4 separate regions of the Homo sapiens genome follow, and regions 1, 2 and 3 are each linked to region 4. The links are contacts of gene promoters, found by promoter capture Hi-C in blood cells and fetal thymus (Javierre and others, 2016). All regions are on one chromosome and are shown on one strand. Each heading gives the region's core, a stretch centred on a gene start or on the middle of the fragment in contact. The rest is flanking DNA. Distances are from core to core; before and after follow the strand shown.

Evidence for each region. Contacts are between HindIII fragments. The CHiCAGO score rates a contact against its expected background, and 5 or more counts as called.
Region 1: a fragment that was not itself captured here is called in contact with the fragment with the promoter of ELOVL2-AS1 in region 4 in 8 of 17 cell types (fetal thymus, M1 macrophages, megakaryocytes and 5 more); the score reaches 13.1 in fetal thymus.
Region 2: a fragment that was not itself captured here is called in contact with the fragment with the promoter of ELOVL2-AS1 in region 4 in 2 of 17 cell types (endothelial precursors and fetal thymus); the score reaches 7.5 in endothelial precursors.
Region 3: a contact is called between a fragment that was not itself captured here and the fragment with the promoter of ELOVL2-AS1 in region 4, in 3 of 17 cell types (endothelial precursors, fetal thymus and activated CD4 T cells). The highest score is 7.6, in endothelial precursors.

Annotation. Positions count from the first base shown.
Region 1 is chr6:11,493,604-11,497,707 of GRCh38, forward strand. The region is part of intron 3 of LOC105374928 (a long non-coding RNA gene); the gene reads left to right. Among named protein-coding and RNA genes, the nearest start is that of TMEM170B, 42 kb to the right of the region's middle. The HindIII fragment of the contact is 384 bases long and covers 2,629-3,012 here.
Region 2 is chr6:11,543,787-11,547,665 of GRCh38, forward strand. All of the region lies in intron 1 of TMEM170B (transmembrane protein 170B), which reads left to right. Among named protein-coding and RNA genes, the nearest start is that of TMEM170B, 8.0 kb to the left of the region's middle. The HindIII fragment of the contact is 9,162 bases long and covers 1-3,879 here.
Region 3 is chr6:11,527,328-11,531,004 of GRCh38, forward strand. No RefSeq gene overlaps it. Among named protein-coding and RNA genes, the nearest start is that of TMEM170B, 8.6 kb to the right of the region's middle. The HindIII fragment of the contact is 3,603 bases long and covers 1-3,572 here.
Region 4 is chr6:11,042,416-11,045,940 of GRCh38, forward strand. ELOVL2-AS1 (ELOVL2 antisense RNA 1) reads left to right here and starts at 1,343. Exons shown (of 5, transcript NR_038964.1): 1 at 1,343-1,410. It overlaps ELOVL2 (ELOVL fatty acid elongase 2), which reads right to left and starts at 1,890. Exons shown (of 8, transcript NM_017770.4): 1 at 1,813-1,890. The coding sequence starts at 1,815. RefSeq lists a silencer at 1,786-1,985 and enhancers at 2,420-2,920, 2,921-3,421. The HindIII fragment of the contact is 4,245 bases long and covers 154-3,525 here.

The DNA.
Region 1 (4,104 bases), core at 1,571-4,070, 450 kb after region 4:
TAGCTCAGACTACAGGCGCATGCCACCACGCCTGGCTAATTTTTGTGTTAGTAGAGATGGGGTTTCACCATATTGACCAGGCTGGTCTTGAACTCCTGACATCAGGTGATCCACTGGCCTCGGCCTCCCAAAATGCTGGGATTACAGGCGTGAGCCACCGTGCCCGGCCAGTTTGATTACTGTTTTAAAGAGACGAGAGAACTAATGTGAGCAAAGGGGCCAGGTAAGGAAAAGATGACTCCGGTATCCTTGAGTAAACTCTCTGTATCCAGGTGGTCAATTTCTGATCCAGTTCATTAGCACCCATGACTGATGGAATAATTTTGCAAGGCCTGGTTTGGCAAAAGTACAGGAAGAAGGCATAGCTCTATGAGTTGAATGGAAGTCTAGAGGTACAGAAAAGGGTGGAGTTGGCCTGCCTATGAGATCATTCTAACATTGGCATGTAGAGGGGGAGGGTGTGAACTATGCTAATTTGTTATAAAAATGAGCGGAACCTTCGAGCCGGCTTCTGCTTTGAACATCCCTCCTGATCTCAGCAAGCTGCCTCCACCAGAGAAGGGCTGCCATGCTGGGAAACTCCATCCAGTGACTCCATCCCTTGGAAACATGCCCGTTTGAAAAAAGTACTACCCTGCTTAAAGATTCTAAATCTTGCCTTAATCCACTTCAGATTGAACTATTGCCAAAAAGGTACTTATTCAGAGTCTTTCACCTATGAAACCAAGATGCCGTGTGCCCATTGTAAATTCAGATGTGTCCAGTCACATGTTTAGTAGAGACATTTCAGGATGTAATTTACATAGTCATCAAACTGTGAGCTGCACACCAGCTTTGTAGGTTTGGGTTTAAAGTTGCTTGAACAATCCAAGGTCAGTTTGGGAACTAGCATGGGCTGAGCCTGCTAATGTGGGTGCATCGGAGGTGCAAGGGCAATAGGGTGGGCTTACCATGGTATGTTATTTGCCTGAGGAGTGAATGCCTTATGAGGAAGAAGTCATCCCCAGGTAGAGTATACAGATCTGGGCCACAAAACATGGTTTTTCGTCATTTTTGGAGAGACTGGGTAGTACGAATGGCTGCTCATACTGCTGTATGCCTGAACAGGCCCTCATAGACATGATAAAGGACCCTAAGGAGATGAGCCCCAAGAAGACAGCCTAGCAATGGAGGATAATAGTCACAGGGACAGAGGCTGCCTCCCTGCCTACCTCATCACACTCTAGCCACTGCACTGACAGGCTACCAAGTGCATGGAATGAGGTCATGGCCATTTGTGGGAAGTGCTTAGTAGTGACCCGAAAATCCTGCTGTCAGTATCAGTGACTGTGGGACCCAGCCAAGTACCCTCTAAAGAGTTGCAGCAGGCTTGTCACCATAGCTACTGTGGATTCACAAGGCTGTTTTGAGGATCCAGGGGAACTTCTCGAGAGCATGTGCACAATTGTCCCTGGGAATTTCCGAAACTAGCTGGGAGAGATTGGAGATGTTCTGAGGCTCTCATGCTCCACAATTTGTGGTTAAGCCAAAGAAGACAGCCTTTGCCAGTACTAGTGTGTCAAAGAAAAATATGTCACGTATACATTCTATGAGCACAAAGTGATGAGACAGGGCCATAAGTTAAGCATGGGAATCAGTCTCATCCCTGACAGACACACGTTAGGTAGGAACATGATTCTACTGATTTACCATATAATTGTGTTTGGCTTTCTTTTGTGTTAGTCCCAGCATAAGATAGATAGGGTTTGAGCTGATCACGCCTTACTTGAGCTGATCACACCTTACTTTCTCCCTCAGTTCTTGTGGTTAATTAGCAAGATGACAGGTCAGCTAGGGTATGGGTGGAGTCAAAGTTGTAGGATACCCTCAGAAAATCAGCTCTTCAGAGTTCAAGCTGCCTCCATCCTTTCTGACATTTGATTTATCCCCTACCAGGCTATGAAGCCTTGACTTTATAGTATAAACCTCTAATCAGATAAGCGGATCACAAAACCATCTTTATTCTCAAGACCACTGCTCTATTGCCCTAACCATCCTTGAGCCATCTCAGGGTAGAGGCATCAGCCTTCAGGAGTTACATAGGCACTGGCAGATCATCATAATAAGGACGGGTTGCCAACCTGCTCAGGTTACAGTGAATGCTGATGGGTAGAGTCTGCTTTGAATTTCTCTGACAAGAGGGAGATACAATGTATTTGGTTCACCCAATTCATTTTAAGGGATTTGGTTCCCAGATTTCCTGCAATCGGAATCATGGCCCATTTTCACAGCCACTAGAGCATTAAATTCGTGTATACAAAATAAAGGACTAGAAAACATGTAAACCTAAAAATGTTTAAGCTAAAATTGTGGTACAGATGTTATCTGAGTCCCATAAATCAGTATTCAGAAATATTGTCTTACTGTCAGAAGCAAACAGCAAACAGAGACTTGCATTAGCTATGTGTCTAGATAATGGCAAAAATTAAGTACAGTATTGTTTAGAAATCATAGGCTGGCAGATCTCTTTTCCTTTTCAGGGTTTAAAGAAAGCATAACCTTCTCTGTTGCATTTAACAAAGGAAAAAAAAGGATTTTCTTGTTTTTTGTGCGTACACCCTGCCTAGGGATGAGTTATTCATCAAAATAAGCTTCCTTGTGTTTTAGAATTTGAGAATTTAGAATACTGAGCATTCTCTAACACATCGCCCTAAACATGCTAGTTTGATTCTGAAGCCTTTTTTCCATTTTGTCAAGTTCACCCTCTGAAAGGGACAGTGAAAAATTAGGGGTTGGCTCCACCTGGTGCTTTGATTAGAAAATTACACCTCCATGTATGAGGGCTGTCAACGGACAGTGTGCCCTCTTGCGCACGGAAACAGTAAAAATACTACATAAATATTACTTAAAAATACTAAAACTACCCCACAAGAGTGACCAGTTAACTCACTTTCCATGCAGGGTGCTAAGGACTATTTTTGTATGGTTGTTTTAGTGTCTGTTGCTATGGAACAAATCATCTTAAAATATAGAAGCTTAAGACAACAAAATCATTTATTATCTCCCACGGTGTCTATGGGCCAGGAATTCAGAAGGAGCTCTGTCGGGTGGTTCTGCCTGGAGGCTTCTTTCACATGAGATCGCAATCAGACAGTACTTGGGGTTATTGTAAAGCCTCATTCGCTCCCGTGTCTGGTGTCTGAGCTGATAAGACTGGACAGGCTGGGGTGGGAGCTTCTCTCTGTCTCTATGTAGTCCCTCTTTAGGGTTTCTCAAGCATAGCCAGACTTGTTTCATGTTGGCTCAGAACATCCAAGGTGGTGTCCCCAGAAAGAGAGCCAGGAGGAAGCCGTGTTGCTTTTTATGATCCAGCCTCAGAGGTCAGGAAATGTCACTTCTGCTGTGTTCTGTTGATAGAGGTAATTGCAAACGTCTACCCAGGTTCAAGGGAAGGGAACATAGCCTCCACCCCTCAATACAGGAATGTCAGTGTCACGTCAGAAGAAGAGCATGTGGGATGGGATATATATTTGTGCATCATCTTTGTAAAAATACAATCAACCACAATTGTTTTATTTAATCATCCTTCACCGTAAATGAAGTTGCTTCGATATATCATTATCCCAATTTTACATTTAAGTGAAAGCAGAAGGAAACATTAAAGATCTTCTTACGCCCTTTCGGTGTCATACTAGAGCATTGCCTAATAAGCTGTCAAAAGTGTCATCTGTACACGATTCTCAGTCTTGGCGCTATTGAAATTTTGGTCTGGGTAATTCTTTGCCGTGGGGGCTGTTCAGGGCGTAATAGGTCATTTAGCAGTATCCCTGGCCCCTGCCCACCAGACACCAGTAGCACACCTTCATCCCTTTAGTTGCGATAGCCACAAATGTCTCCAGACATTGTCAGATATCTCTGGGGTGAGGAGAGGGCAAATGTTCCCCCAGTTGGGAAGTTTTACAGGAAGAAAGTTACTTTGATTATTTGCTATTGATGAAGGTGAGACTCTTGTAAAGTTAATGTTAACTTGTGGAGGATCATTATGTTGCAATTCATTTCTGTCCAGTAGGAAATATAAATCCTACAGATTATAGTTGTGTTGTTTTATAATTTACCAGTTTCAAC
Region 2 (3,879 bases), core at 1,285-3,784, 500 kb after region 4:
TGCTGTCACTAGTGTTTTTTTCCCATGTACAAAGAGATGTGATGTGATTTTTCACCTTGTGTATTATCCCAATAGGTGAAGTGGGAAAATATACTGACCTTTTTATCTTAGAGACTGACCTCTAGAAAGTAGTCTTGTTTATATATTACTTTGATAAAAATAAATTCTTAAAAAGTAATAATGAGAACTACAAACATCTTAACATTTTACAGCCAGAACGACTTAATTTTAGAAATATTGAAATATCACTCCATCAGTGAAGTGACATGGCTGAGATCAGTTATTTAATGACAGAGGCAGGACTGGAACCAGAGTTTCCTGGACCTTTGTTCTCTGCCTTTCCTTTTTCTCCTACATAGCTTGTTAACTCAGGCAGGTCGAGAGAGAATAAATATTACGGTACAGGTTGAACATTCCTAATCTGAAATTTTGAAATTCAAAATGCTCCAAAATCCTAAACTTTTTGAGCAACATGACACTCAAAGGAAATACTAGAACATTTCAGATTTCGGATTTTCAGGTTAAGGATGCTGAGTCAGTAAATAGCATGAAAATATTCCAAAATCTGAAGTCTGAAATCCTTCTGGTCTCAAGCATTTCAGATAAGGGATATTCAACCTGTACTTAAAAGTACCCTGGTAAGTGTTTGCATCAGTGAGCCTGAAGATGTATGAATGGAACTAATTTGTCCAGAAAATAAAATATACTGGAAAATGTAATATATTAGGCTTTCTAACATTTTAAGTTGCCATTGCCCTTGTAAAAGCTAGTGATCCATATTCATTATCTAGCCAGTTTTAGAACTCCTACCAAGTTCAGCCTGCTATTTATTTCCCCTACCTTGGAAGACACTTGTATGGGGATTCCATGTAGAGCATACTAATCCCTCGAAACCCCGTATCTGTCACTTAATAACCATTGCCAAAATTCTCTTTCTGTACATATCACTTCTTTAAGTGTGTTTTTCACAGGATTCCTAAATTGTTTAACTGTGTCAGTTATATGCTTCTGAAGTAGAGAGATAAATAGCTTCCTTTCTTTTTCAAATAGATTTTCTTTCTTTGAATATATTCTAAATTCCCAACCCCAATCTAAAATGAGAGTCAATATTGTATATACAGTTTTTTAGGTAACTTGACTTTTAAAAAATCTACAATTAAATGTTTTTTTTTTGGCTTTACTTTTATTTTCTTTAACTATTTTGGCTTCCATCTTAGTGTTCTGACCCAAATTTGGTTGCTAAGAGTTTAGAGAAGAATTTTTATTTAGAAAAGGGCAGGGTCTGTAAATCCCAGTATAAATGCAAAACTTGGCTGGTGTTAGGAAAGGGATAATTGGTCCCTGGGAAAAAGATGAGGGCTGCTTCAGGCTGGTCTCTCTGTGTCAGCAGCAAATGTAGGGGCAGGTGTTCCCTTCTTTTTATTGGTAATAAGCATTGGGAGGCTGGGAATTCAACCTGGAATGAAGGTTAAAAGGCTTCTCTCTCTCTCTCTCTGTGTGTGTGTGTGTGTGTGTGTGTGTGTGTAGTACTAGTAGTAAGTAGTAGTAGTAGTAGTAGTCCCGTTTATTCAAAGGCAATATGTTCCAAAACCCCCAGTGGGTGCCTGAAACCATGGATATTTCTGAACCCCATATATACAGTCATGTGCCATGTAACTTTCCAGTCAAAGAAGGACCTCATGTGATGATGGTCCCATAAGATTATAATGGAGCTAAAAAAATTCTGTCACCTACTGAGATCATGGCCGTCCTAATGTCATAGCGCAACACGTTACTCACGTGTTTATGGTGATGCTGGTGTCAACAGACCTACTGTACTGCCTGTTGTATAAAAGTAGAGCATATATAGTTATGTACAGTACATAATACTTGATAACAACTGTGTTACTGGCTTATGTATTTACTGTACTAGATTTTTTATCATTATTTTAGAATGTACCCCTACTTGTTTAAAAAAAAAAGCTGAATCCCAGCACTTTGGGAGGCCGAGGCAGGTGGATCACGAGGTCAGGAGATCGAGACCATCCTGGCTAACATGGTGAAACCCTGTGTCTACTAAAAAAAAAATACAAAAAATTAGCCGGGCGTGGTGGCGGGCGCCTATAGTCCCAGCTACTTGGGAGGCTGAGGCAGGAGAATGGCATGAACCTGGGAGGCAGAGCTTGCAGTGAGCCGAGATTGCACCAGTGCACTCCAGCTTGGGCAACAGAGCGAGACTCCGTCTTTAAAAAAAAAAAAAAAAAAAAAAAGGCAAGCTGTAAAACAGCCTCAGGCAGATCCTTCAGGAGCCATTCCAGAAGAAGACGTTGTTACCTTAGGAGATGCCAGCTCCCTGCCTGTCATTGCCCCTGAAGACTTTCCATGGGACAAAGTGTGGAGGTGGAAGACAGTGATATTGATGATCCTGACCCTGTGTAGGCCTAGGCTAATATGTATGTTTGGGTCTTAGTTTTTAACAATTTTTTTTTAATTTTAGAAGTAGAAAAAGTTTATAAAATTAAGAATATAAAGTATTTTTCATACAGCTGTACAATGTATTTGTGTTTTAAGCTAAATGTTATTAGAAAATAGTTAAAAAGTTAAAACTTAAAAGTTTATAAAGTAAAAAAGTTACAGTAAGCTAAGGTTAATTATTGCAGAACAAAAAATATTTTAAAAATAAATTTAGTGTAGCCTGTGTATAGTGTTTATAAAGTCTACAGCAGTGTACAGTAATGTCTGAGGCCTTCACATTCACTCACAGTTTCACCTGGAGCAACTTCCAGGCCTGCAAGCTCTATTCATGATAACTTCCCCATACAGATATTCATTTTTTAATCTTTTATGCTATATTTTTACTGAACTTTTTTATGTTTAGAGACACAAATACTTCCCATTGTGTTACAATTGCCTGCAGTATTGAGTAAAGTAACATGCTATACAGGTTTGTTGCCTAGGAGCAATAGGCTATACCATATAGCCTAAATGGAATATATGTTAGCTTATACCATCTAGGTTTGTGTAGGTACACTGTATAATATTTGCACAATAATGAAATGGCCAAATGACACATTTCTCAGAATGTATCCCCGTCATTAGGCAACACATGCCTGTACTATGTTTTTTCCTACACATGCATACCTGTGATAAAGTTTAACTTAGAACTTAGGCACAGTCAGAGATTAACAACAACAAATACTGTAGTAAAAGTTATATGAATGCGGTCTCTCGCTCTCAAAATATTGTATTGTACTATACTTATCTATGTTCAGACAATATTCGATAGTGGGTAACTGTAATTGCAGAAAGTGAAACTGCAGATAAACGAAGAGTATTGTATATATGTATATTTAGGATATGTATACACATGCACATATACATACTACATCATAGTTCCCTTTTAGGCATTATAGTTGCTAAGCCATTTTTGTTTCAATATTTAGTGTCAGTCAAAGAAAAAATAAAAGAAAGTGAATATTTAGTATATATATTTGGAATTGTTCACATTCATACTGGTATAGTCAGCACCTTCCTTCAATAGCGTTCCCAAGAAGGCATGCTTCTCTTGGGGTTACTCTGTATTCTAGCTTACCATTAGGTTAAGTTCCTCTTCCTAAATGCTGTATTATAGGAGGTGAGCTTAAGTAGAAAAAATTACTTCAAATGTCTACTTAGAGTTATTTATGTTTTGTAAATGTGCCCTAAAGATATATGCTACTTTTCAGTATTTGTGTCAGACCTCCATTTTACTTTTTTAAAAAATGTGAAAAGTCCTTACCCTTGATAGGTACAGAGTCAATTAATAAGTGCCAGTATGATATGGCCTTCATAGGATTTAACTTCTTAGGAGGCTTACCTGTATATCTTATTGAGAATGAAAATGCTATAATTTTTAAAAAC
Region 3 (3,677 bases), core at 521-3,020, 490 kb after region 4:
AATTGTTACTGTAATCTAAGATTAATTTATCATTGTAGAAACATTTTAAAAATAAATTTAAGGTAGCCTAAGTGTGCAGTGTTTATAGAGTTTACAGTAGTGTACAGTAAGTTCCTGGGCCTTCACACTCACTCACTACTCACCCACTGACTCAGCCACAGCAACTTCCAATCCTACAAGCTCCATTCATGGTAAGTGTCCTATAGAGTTGTACCAATTTTTATCTTTTATGCCATATTTTGACTGTACCTTTTCTAAATTTAGATGTGTTTAGATGCACAAATACTTCCCATTGTGTTACAATTGCCTGTGGTATTCAGGACAGTAACCTGCTGTACAGGTTTGTAGCCTAGGAGCTATAGGCTGTACCATCTAGCAAAGGTGTGAAGTAGGCTATACTATCTAGATTTGTGTAAATACACTCCATGATGTTCACACAATGACAAAATTGACTAATGATGCATTTCCCAGAAAGAATCCTCATTGTTAAGTGATGGGTGACTATATACATTATACAAATAAAACATAATACATATGTATTATATATATTGCATATAATATGTGTAATTATAATGTGATATGGATTATAGAATGCAAATATATTTATTAATATTATATAACACATAGAATATATATATATATATATATACATGTGTTCTCAGTAACAGTTTGTTACCTATTTATTGTTTCTAATGTATGTTTTATTCTCCCTTAAATAGATGCTAAGGTCTTTGAGGGTAGAAAAAAAATCTTCTATTTCTTAACACTTATAATTAGTATAATGAAATGAAAGTGATAAAAATTATAAATTTGTGTTCAATCTCATACTTTTACAATAGGCCAGATATTGTCATTAGTTTCCCAATTAACCCAGATATTTACAATATGAGCTTGAAAAAGTTATCTAAGAAGGCATAAAAAATGAACATTAGATATTCATCACAGAAATAGAAAAAAACCCCTAAAATTTATATGGAACCACAAAAAACCTTGAATAGACAAAGCTCTCCTGAGCAAAAAGAACACAACTGGAGAAATCACATTACCTGATTTCAAATTATATTAATACTACAAAGCTATTGTAACCCAAACAGCCTGGTACTGGCATAAATACTGACACATAGACCAATGGAATAGAATACAGAACCCAGAAATCAATCCCTGCATTTAGAGTGAACTCATTTTTGACAAAGGTGCCAAAAACATACATTGGGGGAAGGAAAGTCTCTTCAATAAATGGCACTGGGAAAACTGGATATCCATATGCAAAAGAATGAAACTAGACCCTTATCTCTCATCACATACAAAAATCAAATCAAAATAGATTGAAGACTTAAATTTAACTAAGACCTCAAACTATGAAACTACTAAAAGAAAACATCAGGGAAATGTTCTAAGACATTGGTCGGGGCACAGATTTCTTGAGTGATACCTCAAAAAACACTGGCAACCAAAGCAAAAATGGACAACTGGAATCCCATCATGCTAAAAAGCTGCACAGCAAAGGAAACTATCAACAAAGTTAAGATACAGTCCACAAAATGGGAGAAATGTGTGCAAACTGTTCATCTGGCAAGGAATTAATAAGCACAATTTATAAGGAGCTCAATCAATTCAATAAGAAACAAGTCTAAAAATCTGATTTTAAAATGGGCAGAAGATCTGAATAGACATTCCTCAAAAGAAGACATACAAATGGGCAACAGGTATGTGAAAAAATGTTCAACATCACTAATCATCAGTTACATGCAAACCAAAACTACAATGAGATATCATCTCACACCAGTTAAAATGGCTTTTACCCAAAAGACAGGCAATAATGAACGATGGGGGAGGATGTGGAAAAAGGGGAACACTCGTACACTGTTGGTGGGAAAGTAAATTAGTACAGCCACTGTGGAGAGTAGCATTAAGTTTCCTCAAAAAACTAAAAATAGAATTACCATATGATCCAGCAATCCCACTGCTTGGTGTATTTCCAAAGGAATGAAAATTAGTACATTGAGAAGATATCTGCACTCCCATGTTTGTTGCAACACTATTCATAATGGCCAAGATATGGAATCAACCTAAGGGTCCATCAATGGATGAATGGATAAAGAAAATGTGATGCATATACCCAATGTAATATTATTCAGCCATAAAAAAGAATCAAATCTTGTCACTTGTAACAACTAGGATGGAACTGGAGGACATTACGTGAAGTGAAATAAGCCAGGCACAGAAGACAAATGTCATATGTTCTCACTCATATGTGGGAGCTAAAAAGTAGATAATTAAATGCACAGAGATAAAGATTAGAATGATGGTTACCAGGCCAGGCCCGGTGGCTTAAGCCTGTAATTCCGGCACTTTAGGAGGCCAAGACGGGCAGATCATTTGAGGTCAGGAGTTAGAGACCAGCGTGGCCAACACGGTGAAACCTCGTCTCTACTAAAAATACAAAAATTAGCTGGGTGTGGTGGTGCACGCCTGTAATCTCAGCTACTTGGGAGGCTGGGGCAGGAGAATCACTTGAACCCGGGAGGCGGAGGTTGCAGTGAGCCAAGGTCACACCACTGCACTCTAGCCTGGGTGACAAGAGTGAAACTACGTCTCAAAAAAAAAAAAAAAGATAATGAATGGTTAATGGGCACAAAAATTATAGTTTGATCAAATGAGTAAGAGCTAGTATTCTGTAGCACAATAGGGTGACCATAGTTTAAAAAAATGTATGTTTTAAAATAACTGAAAGAGCGGTATTGGAATGTTCCTAACACAAAGAAATAATGAATTCTTAAGATGAAGGAGATCCCAGTTACCCTGATTTGGTCATTATAAATGGTATGCCTGTATCAAAACTCACATGTACACCATAAATGGAATTATTACGTACCCATAATTAAAAACTTAAAAATTAATTTTAAAATAATTGTAATATTATGTACCCATAATTAAAAAATTAAAAAATAATTTTAAAAAAGAAAGAAAAAAGACCATTGGAAAAATTTACTTTCAGAGTTTCAATTTTTTTAATGCAACTAATATTTCTAGTTGAATTCAATTTATGATGGATTGGGTTAGGTACCCAATTGGACAGAACTTTAATATGGAGAAGAGTGATGGGGTAACATTTATTCTGTACGTTATATGAAAACTTAGAAAGTCATAATAAGTGAAGAAAGGTGGTCTGGATGAATTCTCTAGGAAACAGCCTTTGCCTGCTGCAAGGTGGCAGGATTTTGTGGGTAGACAAGATATACTCAAATTGTTTGTGTCTACAGAAAATTTGGATCATCTAGCTTTGATTAGTAAGCTGAATTTACCAGTTGACTTCTAGAAAATAGAATCACTGGAAACCTGGAATACAAAAGAATGCATTCTTGTCAGAGCAGTATTGGAATACTAATTAGGGAAGCTCAACCACTGAAGGAAAAGTCCCAAATTACAACAGGTTGCTAACCTAAAATAATCAAAATGGTCAAAATCTAGTTTAAGGAGAGTGTGTTCAAGTGCAATGGGGGGATGGCCCACCTAGGAAGTACAGATTCCAAAGAATGGAAGCCAGTGTTCCAAAGTGTAGGACTTATCTAAGCTTTAATGCCTCGTTACAATGATCTGATTAGCTAAGGTGGTCTTTTTCCCTTGAGAAAGGTACATTTAACATTCCACATGGAAGACGTAACTGTTATGGGGTC
Region 4 (3,525 bases), core at 93-2,592:
GCATCACACTTGGGCAGGATAAAGCTTTCAAGAGCTTGCCCTTGATTTTAGCTCTTTTAGGTTAACATTCCCATGACTTTCCTATTCAGCTAAAGAGATTTCCTTGGACTTATTCCCTTACTCACTACAATTCCTACCTATACTTTAGGACAAAGCTTCAGAGCCCAAAAGGAGAGCCAGTTGGTCCTAAAAATGCTTTGTCCACTCTGATGCCAAGGTGCAAAGAGCATGAAGCGACAGACAAGGCATAAGAGATAGCCGCCTAGACTCGTCATTGAAGGCTGCCAAAATCGGGTCCCTCCTGTCGGGAGTATCTCCCTCCTCCCAAACTTCACTTGAGACTCTCATCATTACAAATGTCAACTGCATAATCTTTGCAGTTACTCCCCACCTGTGCATTAACATAAAGCAGCTTGCTTTATTGGGTTAATTCAAAAGAGTTATCAAGTACCTACTGTGCGCCAGGCACTGCTGTAGGTACTAGAAATCTAGCAAGCAATGAACGAAATGACAAAAATCTGTGTCTTCCTGAAACCTATATTCTGGTAGAGGAGACGTTCAAGAAACAAGCTAAAGAAACAAAATATGCAGTACGCTAACTAATACATGCTCAAGAGAAGACAAATGAAGCAGGCAAGGGGAATATACACTGTGGTGGGCGGGGTAGGAAAGGTTGGAATTTTAAGATTAAGTGGTCACACATAATCAGGCAGATGGTACGTGCCTAAAAGGGTAGCCAGAGCAAAATCAGATGGAGTGGGGAAGAGAAAGGAAGTGCGCTTATTTTAACAAGTCCTGAAGTGGAGAGAAAACCCTACGGGAAGGGGGTGAGGCAAACACTGAATATGGACCACTGAAGACAAACGCGGATTTCACATTTTGCCTAAAGACCAGTCCTTTGAGGATGGCACAACAGATGTTCTCCCTTTGTAACCAAAGAACCAGGCTCTGCTACTAAAACTGTCAGGCAGTTCATCGGACACGGGTGAACACACACACACACACACACACACACACAGCTTACTGTCAGGCAGTTCATCGGACACGGGTGAACACACACACACACACACACAGCTTACTGCCGAGGAGAAAGAAGCGTTACTAATCCAGAGTGGAGGACTGGCCTGGGAAATCGGGCAGAGAGAGGAGTTGTCGGAAAGAACACACCAGAAGCCCCTCCGAGCCCAGACACTGATAGAAACCCAGCCGCTTCCCAAGCCAATCTGCAAACCCAGGAGGCACCCACGAGTGCACAGACACACCCCCGGGGTGCAGGCGCGGTGAAGGGAGGAGAGGGGCAAGAGCTTGACCGTTAGGGCCCGAACCCCAGAACTCCCGAGGCAGGGTGTGTGCCGCGCGCGGGAAACGCCGTTCTCCGCTCCAGGCGTCGGCGGGCGGTGGCGAGAGCAGGTTCGGGGGTCCGGAGGGTCGGAGGGTGGGCTGCGCGCGGGAATGGCCGCCGCGAAGGAGGGGCGGCTTCCTCGGGCATCCCGGGCGCCCGGCCCCGTGCATGCAACAGGGGACTGGGCGCGAGCGGGCGCCTCGAGGTGCCGGGGCGGGACCGGGGAGAGGGGACCGAGACAAAGTTCCCGAGACCCGCGGGCCTCGGGCCGACCCGCGCGCCCCCGGCCCAAACGCTCAGCTCCCGCTCCCCAGGCCCGCGCGGACCCGGCCCCTCCGAGGGTAGCGGGTTCCAGCGGCGAACCCGCAGCGCCCGCGCCGGCGCCCGCTCGGCCCTTTCCCGCCCGGTGCGTGGGTCCAGGAGAGAAAGAAAGCGCGGCGGTGTCGGTGGCGGCGCGCGGCCCCACTCACCATGATCCGCAGCGGCTGTGGCGCGGCGACCCGGGCGGGCGGCGATGCGCTGTCCAGGGTAGCCGGGTCCCTCTGCCCGGCGCTATCTCGGCGCCCGCGCCGGTTACCCCCACCCACACCCACGCCCGGCGCGCGCACACCCGCCCGCGCCTCCCCGCCCCCTCGGGCTCGCGCCGCCGCCGCGCGGCGCTCCGAGCCTCGGGGCCGTTTCGTCCCCGCCCCCTCTCCCACAGGGGCCTCGCCGGCCGCCGCGCCAGGAGGGCGCGCGGGGGAGGGGCGCAGGGCAAGTGAGGCGGCGCCCCCCGCCCCTGCGGCCTCGCGCGCCCCCTCCTGGGCGACCGACCTCGCCCTCGCGTCCGCGGCGTCCCCTGCCGGCCGGGCGGCGATTTGCAGGTCCAGCCGGCGCCGGTTTCGCGCGGCGGCTCAACGTCCACGGAGCCCCAGGAATACCCACCCGCTGCCCAGATCGGCAGCCGCTGCTGCGGGGAGAAGCAGTATCGTGCAGGGCGGGCACGCTGGTCTTGCTTACAGTTGGGCTTCGGTGGGTTTGAAGCACACATTAGGGGGAAATGGCTCTGTTCCTGCAGGTTTGCGCAGTCTGGGTTTCTTAGGTTTAGGGGGTTGGGTGGGTTTCTCTGGGGGTGCGGTGGGAAGCGGATCAGTTCGGATAACGGCCCTGAGCAAGAGTCTCTGTCCCGCTCCCGGCCTGACGCGGGGCTTCCAGCGGACACGACCAACGGTGAGCGCACCCTCTTCACTGTGAACAGAACGGTGGCCTCCTAGAGCCTGCGCTTCTAGTTACTTTAGTTGTGTGTGTGGCCCAAGTGAAAGACGTCGAAAAAATTGGACTTGCCTGAGTATTACATGAACTTTCTTCCATTTCTCCCTCAAGCATGGGAAGTTGGCGGGCGTGGTGGTTCCCTCCTGTAATCCCAGCACTTTGGGAGGCTGAGGCAGGCGAATCACTTGAGGTCAGGAGTTCGGGACCAGCCTGGGCAACATGGCGAAACCCCGCCTCTTAAATAAAAAATACAAAAATTAGCTGGGTGTGGTGGCCTGCGCCTGTGATCCCAGCCACTCGGGAGGCTGAGGTGAAGGATGGCTTGAGCCCTGGAGGTGGAGGCTGCAGTGAGCCGAGATCACGCCACTGCACTCCAGCCTGGGCGACAGAATGAGACCCTGTCTCAAAAAAAAAAAAAAAAAAAAAAAATGTTTACCACATGTGAGGCTCATGTGGTAAACATGTTTATTGGGGTTGAGAGCAGCCCGTGTGGCTGTGCACGGAGGTACCTGCACCATACACTTAGCATCCCACACCTGGGGCGGTGTGGGAGCCCTTGCAGAGTTTTGTGCAGTAGCAGAGTGAGTAACTGTAGGTACCGGGGCTAAATCTTAACTGTCATACAATCACCTAATATATAGTTTCCTAATAGAGAGTTTTTCTTCCTAATATAGAATTTCTGTAGCTGAAGTGGTAAATATTAGGCATATATTTGTTTATAAAAGGCGGATGATTTTATGACCATAAACAGGTTAACCTAGTCTGATAAAAATCTCAGGAGTCAGCTCTGCCACATACTGGGTGTGTGGTATTGGGTTGGTTACCTAAACTGTCTATGCTCCAGTTTCCTGATTTACGAATTTGGGATAAAATAGCACTTAACATTACATGTAGCTGTTAGGGTTAAATTAATATGGGTAAAACTCTAGAAA